Linked DNA regions of Homo sapiens: region 2 is linked to region 1. The links are contacts of gene promoters, found by promoter capture Hi-C in blood cells and fetal thymus (Javierre and others, 2016). All regions are on one chromosome and are shown on one strand. The core of a region is centred on a gene start or on the middle of the fragment in contact, and the rest is flanking DNA. Distances in the headings are between cores, read along the strand shown. Region 1 holds the start of DSG3 (desmoglein 3). Region 2 has its middle 79 kb from the start of DSC3.

The links. Contacts are between HindIII fragments. The CHiCAGO score rates a contact against its expected background, and 5 or more counts as called.
Region 2: a contact is called between a fragment that was not itself captured here and the fragment with the promoter of DSG3 in region 1, in 1 of 17 cell types (M2 macrophages). The highest score is 5.2, in M2 macrophages.

What each region holds. Positions count from the first base shown.
Region 1 is chr18:31,446,427-31,449,038 of GRCh38, reverse strand. DSG3 (desmoglein 3) reads right to left here and starts at 1,298. Exons shown (of 16, transcript NM_001944.3): 1 at 1,114-1,298. The coding sequence starts at 1,161. The HindIII fragment of the contact is 20,227 bases long and covers 1-2,612 here.
Region 2 is chr18:30,962,466-30,965,077 of GRCh38, reverse strand. No RefSeq gene overlaps it. Among named protein-coding and RNA genes, the nearest start is that of DSC3, 79 kb to the left of the region's middle. The HindIII fragment of the contact is 2,065 bases long and covers 265-2,329 here.

The DNA of each region.
Region 1 (2,612 bases), core at 49-2,548:
CTGTAATCTCAGCTACTCAGGAGGCTGAGGCACGAGAATCACTTGAACCCCAGAGGCAGAAGTTGGAGATCGCACCACTGCACTCCAGCCTGGGCAACAGAGCCAGACCTTGTCTCAAAAACAAAAACAAAAACAAAAATCTTAGGGAGAGCTAAGAAAGTCCTTTCTTGAGATCTATCTCCCTGTGACTTCTTGAAGTCCATTTATCTCAATTTTTTTCATGAAGAAATGAGGTAAATTGATGCCTAGGCCAACCCAGCTTATCATGGAAACCATACAAATTAGCATTAGGAATTGTTTTGACATTCATTTTTAAGGTATATTTAACTATTTTGATATCTCCGTGTAACAGATAATATTGTGACTTTTCTTTTTTTTTTTTTGCTATAAGAACACAGTTAAGGAGTAAGTTAGTCTGTAACATCCAGGTTTTAAACAGTCTGTAACATTCCGTTTCTCTTTTAGATAATACTATGTACGACTTTCTCAATCAACAGAAGTATTACTTTTCTGAAAAAAATGGCTTTAAAATGTTGTATGTCTTTCCCCCCATCCCCAAAGGCTGACATTTTCTTTTGGCACATAATAGCTAAACATAAATACTTACTTAATAATCCTCCCAACTTCTCTAGAGTCAAACACTGCTTTGATTTTAATTCTGCGATTTTTTACTTTTAAAAGCGTGTCAGGTATCAAGCCCAGGCGTGTAGAGTTCTTAGCTATATGCTAAGAGACATGTAATCTTGGAAAATAGAAGTGGCTCCTGTGTTCTTGTTTGTGGGTTAGAAAAACTAGTAAAAGCATAACTTTAAAGAAAGTGAAAATGTTGTGGAAAATATAACCTGTGATTAAGATTACTTAATTCATTAACTAAAAAAAATTCTAAATGGTTTTTAAAACTCATTTCTTTCTGGTTTATTTTTCTATGTAAAATACAACATAAAAAACAACAAAAGAAGGAAATTGGTAATCTTCACGATTTCATTTCAAAGTGTTGATTTCCACTGCACTCCTTTTAGAATTTATAATAAAGATTGTGCAATCAAATATAATATTCTTTAACAAGGGAGGAAGCAGGGAAGTTTGTGATTATTAGGAAAATCCAGGACTTACCACGAAGATGGCCAGAGCCCCTGTAGTTCTGGGGAAGAGCCCCATCATTGTCTCTGATTTCCCTGGTGAAAAAGTCCAAGTGAGCCGCTGCTTCTATCCTGCCAGCCGTCTGCAGTTGATGTCTAAGAAAAGCCCTCTGCAGCGTCTCTGCTGCTTTCCGAAGGAGTCTACAGATGGTCTGTTATGCGGTCCCTCCCCACCCTAAACCAAGGGTAGGTCTCACCAGAAACGCTTGCATCACCTTTGCTCCCAGGTAAAAACTTAGCCACACCTCGATTCCTAAAGCAATGAAATCCTTTGTTGGAAGCTGAAAGAAAAGTTCACAGGCTAAAGACAAAGTTTAATAGGAAGGTACCAGATGAATAATAAATTAATCATGATGTGGAAGTGCAAAAGCTAGTCCGGACTACACTTTGTCAGTGTTGATGTCTTATGGCTGAATCTAGTTGACTATGGTTACAATGAAAACCGAAAAGCAAAGCAAAACGTACAAAATCCCCCAAAATCTAACTTGTAAAAGAGCATTTATTTTCAGCCTGAGTATGTGTGGGTAGATCTAAAGTTAAGCAAAATGTAGATGTTAAGCAATGATATATTTTATTGAAAGGCACTAAAAATATGAAGAAGAAAAACATCCCATTAAGCAACTATGAATGTAGGCTTTGAATAAAAAAAAAAAAAGAAATAAAATTGAACAGTTATATGGTGCCTTGAATATTTGAAATATATAAATAATGCGTTGCAAAATTACTCTGATAATACTCAAATGACATCTTTTATACTGTATTTCTTTTCATTTATAACTTTCAAAAAAGCCTAGATTGCCTAATAAGGTAGATTATCTTGGTGCTCTTTTCATTACTCAAGACATTTTCCCCAGTGTGGTGAACCTGCTTGCTGTTACATACTCGGAAGTGCTTAAATACTTCGACTCTAACCCAAGATAAAGCAGAGGGGAAAAATTACCAGCCCCATTTTAGCTACTTTGCTTATAACATTAGAATTTAAAGTACTTTTTACAGTTTCAGAAATATTGAAAGAAAGGTTTGGTAGAAGAGCAATTTTATCTTTGCAAGTATTACACATTAGGTTTTAGAAACCACTTAATCACAGTTTTTTTTTTGAATCGGGGTCTCGCTCTGTCGCTCAGACTGGAGAGCAGTGGCGCGATCTCGGCTCACTGCAACCTCTGCCTCCCGGGTTCAAGCAATTCTCCTGAATTGAGGAGGCTGTCTCCTGCCTCAGGCTCCCGAGTAGTACAGAAAATGAAACATTATTCTTATTTATTTATTTATTTATTTACTTACTTACTTACTTGAGACTGCGTCTCTTTGTGTTGCCCAGGCCGGAGTGCAATGGCGCGATCTCGGCTCACTGCAAGCTCCGCCTTCCGGGTTCAAGTGATTCTCCTGCCTCAGCTTCCCGAGTAGCTGAGATTACAGGCTCCCGCCAACTCGCCCGGCTAATTTTTGTAGTTTTAGTAGAGATGGGGTTTCACG
Region 2 (2,612 bases), core at 48-2,547, 480 kb after region 1:
ATTTACAAAAAAAAACCCCAAGGGATTGTACTATGCAGCAAGTTTTGAGAACCCACAGCTCAGCTTATGATAGTTACATCAGAGATAAAGAGTGGGAGTTGAATTTGAGGCATTTTTAAGGTGTGAATTTCAGAGCAGTGTATATACATTACTGTATGTAAGAATACCCAGAAGATCTTGAAAACTACAGATTCCGAGTCAATAGGTCTGAAGTGAGGCCTGAGATTCTGCATTTCTAACAAGCTCCCAGGTGATGTCAAAGCTTCTTGTCCTTAGACCATACCTTGTGGAGGAGGATTATGCATTTTGCATAGGGGAGAGAGGGAGAAAAAACATCAAGAATGATTTATTAATTCTGACATTGGTGACTAAGGGAATCTGATCATAAGAATTTAGAGAAAGATCATGAACTCAGTTTTGAACATATTGAGTGTAAATGTGCCCATGAAAAATCTGAGAGAACATGCAAGTTCTATAGCTTGGAGGAGGTGTCTGTACAGGAGACAAAGATGTGTGCATCATCAGCCTTCTGAGAACAGTTGAACCACAGGAGTTGATAAAAATGCCTGGGTATAGTGTGGAGTGTGAGGTGGGCTAAAGACAGATCCTGAGAAAAGTAAGAAGAGAACACTAAGGTGAAAAAATAAGATTTTTCCAGGATATAGGAGGATAACCAGTAGGATGATATGTCATAGAAGCCAAGGGAAGAGAGAGGAATTCAATAAGAGAGCAATCAACTCTGACAAAGTCTGCTTGAGAGTCCCCATAAGATTACTGAAAGAGGCCCATGCAATATCGCAATAAAGAGGTCACAGATGAACCTAGTGAGAGTGGCTCTGGAGTCCTTGTTCTGGAAAGCCGACCACTGTGAGTGGACAAGTGGATGAGTACCTGGAGGCAAAGAAGTATTAAAAATAGGACCGTATTTCTTAGCCATGCTGCCTGGGCTGTGGAGGGAAGAGGAAGAGATAGATGGTAGAGGTAGTCTCAGGGGGCTAGGGAAGGTTTCTTTTTGTTTTCTTGGTTTTTTTTTTTTTTTTTTTCCTTTTACTAACTAGATTTGGCATTAATTTTGATCATCTCTCTTTCTAAGAGTAGGTTTATTATCTCTTTTATTTGATTTCGGCCTGACTCATTATCTTAGTTTACACTCTGCTCCTAGTTTAAGTCATTAAATACATCCTTAACATCTTCCTGTTACTAATTCTGTCCTTAGTTTTGAGTATAAATTGTTCACAAATGGCCTTTAAATTCTTTCAACATTGACAGTCTACCCTGTTCCCTGGTTCCCAGCTTCCCTGACTATTTTTGTTGCCTCTTCTCATGCAAGTCTACCTCAGAACATCTGTTCTCAGTACTTTCTTTGTCTCTACTGAACCTGAGCTGGTAGTAATTTCCTTACTCAGGGCTGCTCTTTTTACCCAGAGTTCTATAATCTAACACATTACAACAGATTTTTGTCCTTGATTGTATATCAGAATCACTTTAAAAATACAGATGACTGGGCTTCACCCAAAGTCATTTAAATCAGAGCCCCTGAGGTGGGCCTTGGGCCCCAGCATGTATTTCTTGTGTGTGGTTGATGTGGTGCAGAAAGTGCTACCCCAAAATAGGGCTCTTTGGCATTTGAGGAACCAGCAGAAGCAGGAAGGCCACTCTCACTCTTCCTCCTCCATTATCCCCTGAAGCAGGTCATAAGACCTAGGAAACCTCTCCCATCTATTCCGCTGCTTCTCCTCTGAACACCCTCATTTGAAAGGTGTCCTGCCCTAAAACCGGAGGAAAGGCATGTCACTCAGAAACACCAAGAAGGATCTGGACAAACAAACCTTGTCAACTTCCCTTCAATTTCTTACCATTCAAACTTCTGCATGACTGTCCATAACAATACATGGTTTTCCCTGGGTCTTTCTGTCTTCATTTTTGAAGGCTGCCATGACATGAACAACTGCCTTTTGTCATGAGGAGTCAGCAATGCACCTTATGATGGGTGAGAAAAAAATCTGTTCTCCTCTACACAATCAGGTTTGAGAAGCACTGCTTTATAGGCGGTGGAACGTTGTTTCTTCTGCACAATTCAAAGAAAACCAAAATACCTATTTTAACAAGTTAACAGATTTCTTCATCTATATCTAGATGAACATATTGATCTTAGGAATGTTATTTTTATAATATCACAAAAACTTATTGAAGGAAGACAGAATTATTATAAGCAGAAAGTGTATGGCTAGGATAATTCCTGGAAGGAAGTGTGAATTAAGACAGGAAGGGGAAATGAGGGAAACGTCTGGAAACAATGTCTCAAGATTGAAGAGACTAAACAGAAGCTTGGAAAGATACTAGTATCAAACCAGAAGGACCTGGAAGAGTGACAATGAAACTGTAGCTAGGATAGGGGTCCAGGGGAGACAGATGATTTTGTAGAATTCCATATTTATAATAGGGAGAAGCAAGTTAGCTTAGAGTTTCAGGTGGCTGTTAGGAAACAACTCTCTCCTCCAAACATGAAGTTATATCTGAATCACTGACTGATATAATTTTGCTTTCATCAAGAACTCAAGAAATATTCAGGCTGGAGCTAAACCATGTTAGGAAGGAGAAAGCAAGGTTTT